Regions from separate parts of the Homo sapiens genome. Here all the other regions are linked to region 2. The links are contacts of gene promoters, found by promoter capture Hi-C in human tissues and cell types (Jung and others, 2019). All regions are on one chromosome and are shown on one strand. Each heading gives the region's core, a stretch centred on a gene start or on the middle of the fragment in contact. The rest is flanking DNA. Distances are from core to core; before and after follow the strand shown.

What was found. Contacts are between HindIII fragments. The study calls those that stand out against the background at their distance.
Region 1: a contact is called between the fragment with the promoter of CARM1 here and the fragment with the promoter of CDC37 in region 2, in 2 of the 25 tissues and cell types used here (adrenal gland and spleen).
Region 3: a fragment that was not itself captured here is called in contact with the fragment with the promoter of CDC37 in region 2 in 1 of the 25 tissues and cell types used here (spleen).

The regions. Positions count from the first base shown.
Region 1 is chr19:10,870,290-10,874,402 of GRCh38, forward strand. It overlaps CARM1 (coactivator associated arginine methyltransferase 1), which reads left to right and starts at 1,264. Exons shown (of 16, transcript NM_199141.2): 1 at 1,264-1,633. The coding sequence starts at 1,414. RefSeq lists silencers at 524-1,313, 1,444-1,493, 1,584-1,793 and enhancers at 2,534-2,713, 3,354-3,473, 4,011-4,113. The HindIII fragment of the contact is 23,799 bases long and covers 1-4,113 here.
Region 2 is chr19:10,401,748-10,405,935 of GRCh38, forward strand. It overlaps CDC37 (cell division cycle 37, HSP90 cochaperone), which reads right to left and starts at 1,795. Exons shown (of 8, transcript NM_007065.4): 1 at 1,631-1,795. The coding sequence starts at 1,732. It overlaps MIR1181 (microRNA 1181), which reads right to left and starts at 1,791; the gene lies at 1,711-1,791. RefSeq lists silencers at 1,511-1,570, 3,281-3,330 and an enhancer at 1,971-2,320. The HindIII fragment of the contact is 39,094 bases long and covers 1,430-4,188 here.
Region 3 is chr19:10,692,731-10,696,816 of GRCh38, forward strand. No RefSeq gene overlaps it. Among named protein-coding and RNA genes, the nearest start is that of QTRT1, 6.7 kb to the right of the region's middle. RefSeq lists an enhancer at 2,617-3,116 and a silencer at 3,073-3,332. The HindIII fragment of the contact is 7,533 bases long and covers 1-4,086 here.

The DNA of each region.
Region 1 (4,113 bases), core at 14-2,513, 470 kb after region 2:
AGACCAGCCTGACCAACATGGTGAAACCTCGTCTCTACTAAAAATAAAAAATTAGCTGGGCGTGGTAGAGCATGCCTGTAGTCCCAGCTACTCGGGAGGCTGAGGCAGGAGAATCACTTGAACCCGGGAGGCGGAGGTTGCGGTGAGCTGAGATCGAGCCATTGCACTCCAGCCTGGGAGACAGAGCGAGACTCCGTCTCAAAGAAAAAAAAAAAAAAAAAAAAGGAATGAGGCGTAAATGAGGTCTAGGGAAGAGTTAAAGCTGGAGTGCTAGGAAGTGGCCCAAGCTCACTGGGTCGCCCAAAAGAGATGGGGCCACCCAAAATGAAGGGGGATGCAGAGAGAAGACGGGTTTGTGTGGCGGGAGAGGGGCCCTGCGCCGGGCCAGGCTGGACTCAGCATCGTTGGAGGAGGGGCTGAGAGAGGAGGGGGTCAAAGGATATCTTGTGCGAAAGGAGACAGTCAAACATTAAGGATTAAGAAGGCAATGTGGGCAGAGATGATGGGGAAGGGAGGAGGAGCGGTCGAATGTCGGGGAGGGGTCCTTTCAACCGGGCTCAGGTTGCTCCTGGAGGCCAGGGCTCATCGGAAATCGTCGGTGCGGGGGCGGTGGGGGGAAGGGTTGGGGGCGAGGCCCGGGCGCTGGCCACGCCCTTTCCCCCGCCCATTCCCCAGAGCGGGGCGGCTGACAAAGCGAGTCCGGGTGGGAGGGCGCGGGCAGGCACGGGGGCGGGGCCTCGTCGCGGCTGGGCCACGCCTCCCTGAGGGCTGCCTCACAAAGCCGGGCGGGCCCGGGGGGGTGGGGCCCAGTCTCAGGGGCGTGTCCAGGTCGGGGCAGGGAAGCCGCATCACGACGCGCGGCTGCTTGTGTGGGGCGGGGTACAGGGCGTGTCCACGCGGCCGAGCACCGCCCCCGCCGTCCCCGCACCGCCTCACTCGAAAGCAGCCGTTAATGAGGCGCCGGCCTGGGGGCGGGGCCCAGGCCTCCGAGGGGCGTGCCCGCGCGCCCGAGCACCGCCCCCGACGTACCCTCCCGCCCCGCAGTTCCCGGGCGGTGGAGCCACCTCACAAAGCGGCGACCGTTCTCGCGGGGCGGGGCGTAGCCGGTCCCGCCCCACGGGGTGCCCTCTCGTTCGCTCGCTAGCTCCCCGCGCCCAGGACGGCCGGCAGAGGGCGCTGCGCCACGGGGCCGGGCCGCGGCGACGGTGGCGGCGGCGGCGGCGAGGCGGCGCGTGGCCGGCAGGCGGCGCTGCCCGGCTCGGCCTCGGCCTGCACGGCGGCTGCGGCGGCGGTAGCGGCAGCGGCGGCGGCGGCGGCGGCGGCGGCGGCGGCGGCGGCGGCGGCGGCGGCAGCGGCGGCGGCCTGGGCCCGGGCGCAGCGGCGGCGGCGGCGGGGCCTGGAGCCGGATCTAAGATGGCAGCGGCGGCGGCGGCGGTGGGGCCGGGCGCGGGCGGCGCGGGGTCGGCGGTCCCGGGCGGCGCGGGGCCCTGCGCTACCGTGTCGGTGTTCCCCGGCGCCCGCCTCCTCACCATCGGCGACGCGAACGGCGAGATCCAGCGGCACGCGGAGCAGCAGGCGCTGCGCCTCGAGGTGCGCGCCGGCCCGGACTCGGCGGGCATCGCCCTCTACAGCCGTGAGTACGGGGCCCCGGGGCAGGCGCAGGGCCGGGGCTGCTCACGAGGCCGGCCCGGGGCGGGGGCCGGCGGGGAGGGGCCCTGAGCGCGGGGGCCTGGCGTGGGGTCCCCGGGACTGAGCCGGTGGCCTGCAGGGAGCGACCGTGGAGGGCCGGTGCCAGGGGACAGACAGAGAAAAGAGGGCGTGCGTGGTGGCCGGAGGGGCAAGGTGCCCAGAGTGAGCAAGGGAGCGCGAAATGGGGAGTGAAGGGCCTGAGATTTGGGAGGGGTGGGTGAGCAGGAAGTGGGGGGCTCTGAGTGGAAGGGGAATTTGGAGGACGCCAGGCGTGGTGGGCTTAAGCGTGGGGGAGGGAGGTCCGGGGTGCGGGAGAGGTGGGCGTCTCGGGGGCGGGCGTGGCCGCCTCTGCAGGGAGGAGGGTGGGGCGTGGGCGGCCCGGGATCCCTCTGGGGACCCCCTGGATAGCTCAGGACGGTTGGAAAGTGTTTGCTGGTCTGGGGCGCCCGCGAGTACCGAGTTCCACCGCTGTGCGAGGTGTGGCGTTCAGGACCCCCGAATGGGAAACTTCAGGATCTGGGGAGAGGGCCCATGCGGGGACGGTGGGAGCCGCAGGGTGAGCTCCTCGTGGAAACGTGGACGGGACGGGCCCCTTCCTGATGCCGGGCTTCGAAGTAAGAGCTAACAGCCTCCTCCCATCTTCTTTTGGGGGATGTGAGAAGCTGGTTACATTTTCCGAAGCTGCTTTCAAAACTGACATTTCACTGGGGGGAAAAGAAAATCACAAATGCGTTTGCCAGCACCCCCCACCCCCGCTCCCAGTCTTTGTAGTTCATTCTTCTTCTTGTTACTCCTTCTTATCTCTTCTCTTTGATTCCTTGTTCACATTTTGCTACTCTGTGTCATTTGGCTTTGTCTTTCAGGGCTTCTTGCACTGATGCCCTGGGGAACCCCTCAGGAGGCCTCTAGCTAGCTTGGGTCCTGTGTGAATTTTTTGCCACTTTGGAAACGGCCCGATTAAAGGAAAGCCCGAGGAGCAGTCCGTTCACACTGGGTTTTCCCTGCACCTCGACTTTGAAAACGTGGACTAAAGGAGTTGTGTCTGCTGTCCGAGGGTGCCGTCTCTTTTTGCTGGTGCAGAGCCTGGGTCTTCTTGGACCAGATGAGAGGGGAAGGAGGGTATTTCAGCGGGGGTTTCAGAGTTCAAGGCAGACACTCAGCTCAACAGAACCCCAGATCATAAGCAAAACCTATTCACTGGGCAAGCATTGGTAGCCAACTTTGTCCTGAACAGAACAAAGCGGGGCAGCGTTTCCAAAACTAGGGTCCCAGGGCTTATCCTCAAAGGAGTTCCAGGAGAGTTGGCTATCATTTTTAAGTAAACCTTTAAAAAATTTTTTTAGGACCAGGCGGGGTAGCTCAGCACTTTGGGAGGCTAAGCACTTTGGGAGGATCACTTGAGGTCAGGAGTTCGAGACCAGCCTGGCCAACATGGTGAAACCCCGTCTCTACTAAAAATACAAAACAGCGGGGTGTGGTGACATGTGCCTGTCCCAGCTACTCGGGAGGCAGAGGCAGGAGAATCACTTGAACCTGGGAGGCAGAGGTTGCAATGAGCTGAGATCGTGCCATTGCACTCCAGCCGGGGAGACAGAGTGAGACTCCATCTCAAAAAAAAAATTTTTTTTAGAACAATTTTAGTTTAGTTTTTTTTTTTTTTTTTTTTTTTTTTTTTTTTTGAGACAGAGTCTTGCTCGGTCCCCCAGGCTGAAGTGCAGTGGCTCAATCTCGGCTCACTGCAAGCTCTGCCACCTGGGTTCACGCCATTCTCCTGCCTCAGCCTCCCGAGTAGCTGGGACTACAGGCGCCTGCCGCCATGCCCGGCTAATTTTTTGTGTTTTTAGTAGAGACGGGGTTTCACCATGTTAGCCAGGATGGTCTTGATCTCCTGACCTCGTGATCCACCCGCCTTGGCCTCCCAAAGTGCTGGGATTACAGGCATGAGCCACCCCGCCCGGCCAGAACAATTTTAGTCTTATAGATGTATTGGCAACATAGTGAGATGTTCCTACCATCTTATTCCTGGAGTAACATTTTGTGTTTGTATTTGTGTTTTTGTTTTTGTTTTGTTGATACTCTTGAAAGTATTACTTGTTATTAAGACAGCACTTCTCTTTGAGAGGTAATTGGTAACTGAAACATTTTTTATTATTAGAGACAAGGTTTCACTATGTCACTGTGTTGCCCAGGCTGGTCTCCAACTTCTGAGCTCAAGTGATCTTCCTGCCTCCCAGAATGCTGGGATTACAGGTGTGAGCCACCCCACCTGACCGGAAACATTCATAAAAAGGAGAAAGTCCACATTCCTCAGAGAGCCTCAGTCCCAGATTCCCAGATGATATATCCTTAGGGTTCTGAAATAATTTTTTTTTACACTTTTTTGTTTTTTTTCTTTCTTTTTTATTTTTTTTATTTTTATTTTTT
Region 2 (4,188 bases), core at 545-3,044:
TGGGAAAGGGACCTTCTAGTTGTTTCTGGATAAATGATGGGGAATTGCCCTATGGGAGGGTGGGGTAAGAGATCCTCACTAGAAGGTTCTGAGAGGTATATGCCCTTCGTTTAAGAGCACAACATGGCTGGGTGCGGTGGCTCACGCCTGTAATCCCAGCACTTTGGGAGGCCGAGGTGGGTGGATCAACTGAGGTCGGAAGTTCAAGACCAGCCTGACCAACATGGAGAAACCCTGTCTCTACCAAAAATACAAAATTAGCCAGGCATGGTGGTGCATCATGCCTGTAATCCCAGCTACTCAGGAGGCTGAGGCAGGAGAATCACTTGAACCCGGGAGGCAGAGGTTGCAGTGAGCCAAGATTGTGCCACTGCACTCCAGCCTGGGCGACAAGAAGGAAACTTCGTCTCAAAAAAAAAAAAAAAAAAAAAAAAAGGAATACAACAGACACTGGTATGTAATGCAGGCACACTCATTTGGGGTAGCAGGAGGTTAAACCTTTAAGTCTTAGTCATCCCATTGGCTCGTGAGCACTGAGAGGGTGGTGGGACATGGATCACCCAGGCTTGGGATTCTGGGGTCTGGATTCGGGACCTCTGTTGTGGTCAGATAGAAGAAGGGGTGGTGAATTTAGAATCAGACCAGGAGAGTCCCTGGATAAGAGCAGGGACAATTTGGGTCACAGAGTAGCTAACAGGCTGGGGACAAAAGGTGGGGTGGGTTTGGGGTTCTGGGCTTGAGTTAGGGGAGAGTTTCCAATGCTGGCTGAGGCTCATACAGGAAGCCAGTCTGGGAAGTGGGTGGTGACAGGGTCTGCAATACCAAGTAGGAGCAGGGGCTCTGGCTAGGCCGGAAGCCACGTGGGCAGGATTTCCTGGTATAATGGGAAATGGGTCTACCGGAGGCCAAAGGAGAGGCTGGAATGTGAGGCTCTATCGGGTTGGAGCTGGTAGTTAGATCCAGAGGGGAACCAGATTCCAAAACCCAAGTACTCGGTGAGACTAAGGATCCTGAAGGGGGACGGTTCTACACTCTAGGAAGGGGGTCCTGGGTGTGGGCAGGGACAGGAATATCAGAGTAGCACAGAGTTCCTTGTTCCGTTTAGAAAAGGAGTGGCGACTCCGGATCTGAATGGGAACCCCGGATCAAGATCCCGGAAAGTAGATCCCGGGACAGACCAAAGTATTGGGGGTCCAGACTACGGAGGTGGGGGGGCGATGGGAGATCCCAGATAGGAAGTGAATACCCGAATAGGATGAGGGATCATCTAGAAGAATTTGGGGTCCAAACTTTGAGGCAGAGTTCTGGGTATAAATGTTAACTGCCGAACAGAATTAGGGAGAACCCCCAAGACTCGTCTAGGGGACTCCAGACTATGAAGAAGTTCTAGGGGGTGAATAGGGAATCCCACGCAAAAATCGGAGCAGGGAGTGGGGGAGCGGAGATCCAGGGCAGGGACTCAGGGTCCCAATGGTACTGGGGTCCCGGAGTTGAATCGAAGCTCCTGAAAATCCAGACTGGGGGGGTGAGAATCCTAGGTGTGAACAGCGGGGTCCCTGGGCAGTATCGGGGATCACAACTCCGAAGCGGGGTCCGGGAGTGGGGAAAGGGATGGGCGCGCGCGCCTTACCTGATGCCGCCAGCGGAAGAGACTGGCCGTGTCGATGTTGGGGTGCGTCTCGTCTTCATCATCAGACACCTCAATGTGGTCCCACACGCTGTAGTCCACCATCTTGCCTTGGCGGCCCAGCCCGCTCCGGCTCGGGTGGCGGCGACGGCGGCAGCAGTGGAGACTAGGAGCGCGGAGCCCCGCCCCTTCCGCTTCCGCCGAGCGCGGGAAACCCCGCCCTGTGTGACGTCACATCCCTAGTAACCGCGGCAGCGGCACTAGCTACCCAGCCAGCCTTAAAGGGCCCTGCGTAAGTGTTCCGGCCCCCTGGAGTTCCCGCAGAGACTCCGCGTCATCGGGCGCTGGGGCTCCGCTAGGTCTCCTGGGGGCATATGAGTGCGCGCTTCAACTCCGAGCCCCCCTCATCTCCCGCCGCTCCACGGTGGGCGTTTGGGGTGGCAGGGAGGGGACGGTTGATGAGACTGAGAGGACTGTCCCCTCAGCCACGCCGCAGTGACGTCTGCAAGGGGTAGGGACACGGCGGGAAGGCCCTCCCCCTGCCCTTCGTAAACGGGGACCTAAGCCTGCGCTGGAGAGGGGCGCCTGATGACTCCTCGGACTTTCTCAGCCCGAGGAGGACTGGACCTGCCCTGGGGGTGTCTAAATCGGGGGTGGTATGGCCCTCCCCTTGCAGGGTTAAACGTGGAGGGGAGACTGTGGCCCTGCCTTGGGAGCTGGGGTTTCCCCGCCTCGGCAACAGCCTTCTCCTTGTCTTCCACCTCCTGCCATTCGCAGCGAGGACTCGCGCGAGCGCGCGCGCGCACACACACACACACACACACACACACGCACACACACACACACACACACTTTGGAATCACCCGGACCCCCTCAAAACGGGTCTCGGCTCCCCACCCCGCTGGCCGCTGGGTGTCGCTAGAGTCTAGCCCACGGCGCGTATTCCTGGCCCCGCGCTTGGTGGGGGGAATCGTGGAGGGGTGGAAGGGGGCTTTCCTTGTCGTCACAGTCTGGGGCCACGCATAGCCCCTCCCCGTTCGTCTTGGGGTACGCTTCCTCCGCCGGGGCTCTAAGGACTCCATTACTCTAAGCATGCAGGGCCTCGACCACCTCACACTTCCATGCATCCCAATCCACGCTTTGATACCAGGATAATAGGCCGTGTTGCAGCCTTGGGCCAGGATTATCTCAGATTAAAGGGTGCTCCCTCGGGGGTCAGGCTGGATAGGAGGAGCTCCAGCCACTCCGGTGAGGGGCGCCTCTTCCTAGTCTCCCCTGGAGCCGACGTTGGAGGCAGTGCCTGGAGAGAGCGAGCGAAGTTCTCCAGAAGGGGGAGGATTCCCCGGTGCATGGAGCGGGAAGGGCCATCGGACAAAAACGTCCTCCCGCTGCCGCCCTTCCCCCTCGCGCTTCATTCAAACCCGCGAGTGGGCGGGCAGGGGCGGGGGAGTCCCCATCTCCTACCCCTCCCTCTTCCCCTCCACCCTGGCAGTCCAGCACATCAGTGGCCGTCACGGCCCGGGCACGCGCGCGCACGGACCCACACCCCGGCGGCTCTCACAATCGCACACACACATACACACACACACCAGCAAACAAAGGGTCTGGACACCCCCGTCCCCTCCCGCCCCCCAGGCCAGGGAGGGCGGGGCATCCCCTCCCCAGGCCCCCCGCAAGGTAAGCTTGGGGCTGCGAGCTGCGGTGGGGAGGGGGACACGGTGCCACAGTGGGAGGGGGCCAGGAAGGTAGGGGGTTCCCCGGCTCCCCAGGAAAGTCGTACCCCCACCCCCACCGTATGCCCTTTAGGGATTCGGCCCCGTCATCAGCCTGGGGGTGTTTGGAGAGAATCCCAGATGTCGGGGATTCCCGGATAGGCGCGGGGGTCTCTTCCTGGCTCTGGAGACTGGAGCTGCCCAGCTTCAGCAAAACAGGGTTCCCGGAGCCTCAGCTTCCAGAACTGGGGATAGAGCGCCGGAAGCTTCCCCATCAACCCCAAGCATTTCCTAATCTGCCAGCACAGCACCTCCAGCCCTGGGGACTGAGGAGAGAGACCCCTAAGTTGCTTTGCACTGTCCCTCTGTCCCCGGTCCCCATCCCACCCCCATCGGTGCAAACCCTGCTATGTCTCTCCTGCCTGTGTGTGTGTGTGGGGGGGAGGTTTGCGGGAATTGGGAACGCTTTTTGGGGCTACCTTTGCTTCTTCTGCTACATCCCATAGCCACATACCACTGAGCTGCGGTGGGGCCCGGCAGGCGGCTTTGCCTTCCTGAGTCTCAATTTCCTCCTCTGCAAAGTGGGTAATGACACACACCTAGGATTCCGCGAAATCGTGCTCGCGGAGCCTGCTTTTGCGCCATCATTTTATTTATTAGCTCATTTCACATCTCTTTCCCAAGTGTCTACTTACGATGTACTGGGCACTGTGACCAGGCTTTGGGGCAGCAGCAACCAACAAACCCAGTAGGGGTCCCTGCTCCTGGCTAGTGAGGGAGCAGGATCCCTGTATAAACATACAAATCCCCGCGGGTGATTTCAGACTGTGAAGACTAAAATTCTGTCCT
Region 3 (4,086 bases), core at 432-2,931, 290 kb after region 2:
TCAAGTCTGGTGCTGGTTGCTGGGAACGAAATGGTGAACCTGCTCCCAACCCACATGTAGCTTCCAGGCACAAAGAGGGCTGTGTCACAGTGGGACAGGAAGTGCCTGTCAAGGCTTTCCCCTCAGGTGAGAGGATGGGTGAGTTGGACCCAAGAGTGTTAGGAAGGGAAGGGGAGGCCAGGCAGAGGGAATAGCTTGAGCAAAAATTCAGCTGGGGGATGAGGATGGGCTTCAAGAAGCTGAAGTCAGGTGGGTAGAGCATTTTGATGCAAAACAAAGGAATGCTGGGAAATGAGGCTGGAGGTCAGTGGGATCTTGAGGGCCCCCAAGTGGAGTGCCAGGCACAGGAGTTCTTGCCTTCTTTCTAAGGACAGTGGGGAGCCATGGATGGATTCTGACCTGGGAAGACTTCAGGCCCATTCAGGCTCCCAAGAGTATATATTTGTTTATTTATTTTACTTATTTAGAGATGGAGTTTCGCTCCTGTTGCCTAGGCTGGAGTGCAATGGCACGATCTCTGCTAACCACAACCTCCGTCTCCCGGGTTCAAGCGAGTCTCCTGCCTCAGCCTCCTCAGTAGCTGGAATTACAGGCATGTGCCACCAAGCCTGGCTAATTTTGTATTTTTGGTAGAGACAAGTTTTCTCCATGTTAGGCTGGTCTCGAACTCCCGGCCTCAGGTGATCCATCTGCCTCGGCCTCCCAGTGCTGGGATGACAGGTGTGAGCCACCGCACCTGGCTGTTTATTTTTTAAGATGGAGTCTTGCTCTGTCGCCAGGCTGGAGTGCAGTGGAGCAATCTCGGCGCACTGCAACCTCCGCTTCCCAGGTTCAAGCAATTCTCCTGCCTCAGCCTCCCGAGAAGCGGTAACTACAGGTGTGTGACACCATGCCCAGCTAACTTTTGTTTGAGACAGAGTCTTGCCCTATCACCCAGGCTAGAGTGCAGTGGCATGATCTCCGCTTACTGCAACCTCCGCTTTCTGGGTTCAAGTGATTGTCCTGACTCAACCTCCCTAGTAGCTGGGATTACAGGTATGCACCACCATGTCCGGCTTTTTTTTTTTTTGAGACGGAGTCTCACTGTCGCCCAGACTGGAGTGCAGTGGCATGATACCGCTCACTGCAAGCTCCGTCTCCCGGGTTCACGCCATTCTCCTGCCTCAGCCTTCCGATTAGCTGGGACTACAGGTGCCTGTCACCACGTCCGGCTAATTGTATTTTTAGTAGAGACGGGGTTTCACGTGTTAGCCAGGATGGTCTCGATCTCCTGACCTCATGATCCGCCTGCCTCGGCCTCCCAAAGTGCTGGGATTGCAGGAGTGAGCCACCGCGCCCAGCCAATTTTTTGTATTTTTAGTATTTAGTATTTTTAGTATTTAGTATTTAGTATTTTTGTATTTTAGTTCCACCTTGCTGGCCAGGCTGGTCTCAAACTCTTGACCTCGTGATCCACTCGTCTTGGCCTCCCAAAGTGCTGGTATTACAGGCGTGAGCCACACGGCGCCTGGCCTACAGTTTTTTTGTTTGTTTTGTTTTGTTTTTGAGATAGTCTCTCGCTCTGTTGCCCAGGCTGGAGTGCACTGGAGTGATCTCGGCCCACTGCAACCTCCGCATCCCGGGTTCAAGTTACTCTCCTGCCTCATCCTCCCGAGTAGCTGAGATTACAGGTGCCCAGCATTATGCCTGGCTAATTTTTGGATTTTTAGTAGAGATGGGGTTTCACCATGTTGGCCAGGCTGGTCTTGAACTCTTGACCTTGTGATTCGCCTGCCTCAGCCTCCCAAATTGTTGGGATTGCAGGCGTGAGCCACCGCTCCCAGCTGAAACTATTTTTTAGACAGGGTCTCGGTCTGGTATGCAGTGGTGCCATCATGGCTCACTCATCCTCCTGAGTATCTAGGACTACAGGCCTCACTGCCTGGCTAATGTTTGTTTTTCTTCATAGGGGCAGGGTCTCAGGTTGATGTCCAATTCTTGGCCTCAAGCCATCCCCTCTTCAGCCTCACGAACTGTTGGAATTAACCATTGTGAGCCACCGCGCCTCAGTACAGTTCTTTTGGTTGCTGAGCTGAGTAGGTGTATGGGAGAGGTGAGAATGGGGGCCCTGGAGACGACAAGAGGCTTGACTTTTGGAACATCGGAGCTGAGGTTTACAGTGATTTTTGCAGCTGAGTCCACTGGTCTTGATAAGGGAAGAGTTTCTAGACTCAAGAGGGTTAAAAACGGTATGTCAAAGAAAAGGGGCCCGTCCTTCTCATTCTCAGGGAGACCAGCATTCTCTCCACGGAGTAGCCAAGAAGTCCATGAACTCCCAGGTCTTGGGCCAGTGCTTTTGTCTTCTCAAAAGATCTGGCGCCTAAGGTCTTCTTGCTTGGCAACAGGGCAGTAGGTGGGTGGCAATGTCACAGAGGGACGGTCCCCACACGTCCGATGAATAAACTGGAGAAATCCTCCAGGCTATCGAGACGACCACCCGAACTCAGGGCTCCAAGGACCATTATTTCAGCAAAACCCCTAACTCTCCTCTCCTGAATGTTCTGTATTCCTCAGTCAGTGCTCAGAAGTCCGTATCCTGGACCCAGGACCTCAGCACCCGCTCCCTAAGGCCAACCATATAGTCCCCTGTTTGGGGGCTCCCCTGAGCAGTCGCGGGCGATCCCAGAGAAGGCAAGTTTCGGGATCTGACAGCCCCAGTCACGACCCTGGGTGCTGCGCAAGCCTCCATGTGAAGAGCGCGGAAACCGCCCCAGGCCTAGCTGCTGCAAACCACCGCTTCCAAACTTCCCGCCGGTCTCTAGGCTCCGGGTGCCCACCGCCCCTTCCTTCCTTCCTTTGCGCAATCAACAAGCTCCAACTCCAGATGGGATTTCGCAGGCCCTGCCCTGTGTATAAACTCTCTTCGTCCTGGGGTTGTCAACAAAATTTTTTTTTGGAGACGGAGTCTCGCTGTCGCCCAGGCTGGAGTGCAGTGGCGCGATCTCCGCTCACTCACTGCAACCTCTGATTCCCTGGTTCAAACAATTCTCCCGCCTTAGCCTCCTGAGTAGCTGGGATTACAGGCAAGCGCCACCACGCCCGGCAACAAACTCTTCTAATTGGCCGGACTCGCAGGCCCCGCCCCCACAGAGTGTGCCACTGCGTGGAGCGCGCCGCTCCTCATAGGGCGCTTGCGCAGGCTCCGCTCCCTGAGCGGCCGCTTTCCTGGTCTCCAGGCAACGCGTACGGCGCTGTCCACTGTGCTGAAGCCGCACACCAAGCGCCGCCTCTAGCTGCAGGCTCACGGCGCCCCCAGCTCTCCTAAGTGGGCGGTGCCAACACCCTAAAGCAGGGACCACTAAGCCTCCTTTGCGCCCTATCCCCAGTTTATCTCTTGGTAATAGGTAGAGCCCACTTCCCTCCACGTTGGCTGAGAAAGCCCTACCGTCCCATCCAGCTCAGAGGAAAGCCCAAGGCTTCCCGCGATTTCATGCCGTCACCTCCACACCCTCATCCGCTCACCTCCAGCCACACTGACCTCCGCGCTCACAACAGACAATCCAGACACATTCCCACCTCCAGGCCTTTGCTCTTAACTGTTCACGAGGCCTGGAGTGCTCTCTCCGATTCCGCATGACTCCTCCATCCTCCTTTCAGGCTCAAATCCCACCGTCTCAGTGAGCCCAGCCCTGACTATCCTGTCCTACTGAACACATTGACCTCTCTCTATATGTATGTATGTATATAATTTTATTTTTAGTTTTTTCGAGACAGGATCTTGCTCTGTTGCCCAGGCTGGAGTGCAGTGGTGCGATCATAGCTCACTGCAGCTTCCACCTCCCGGGCTCAAGCTATCCTCCTGCCTCAGCCTCCCGAGTAGCTGGGACTACAGGTGTGCAGCACTGCGCCCGTATAATTTTTGTATTTTTAGTACAGCAGAGGTTTTCGCCGTGTTGCCCAGGCTGGTCTCCAACTCCTGGGCTCAAGCGATCTACCTGCCTCAGCCTCCCAAGGTGCTGGAATTACAGGCGTGAGCCACTGCATCCGGACTAGAATATATTTGTTTAAGTGGGTGGATTAAGCCTCTTTTGATAATTGTTGAAGCTG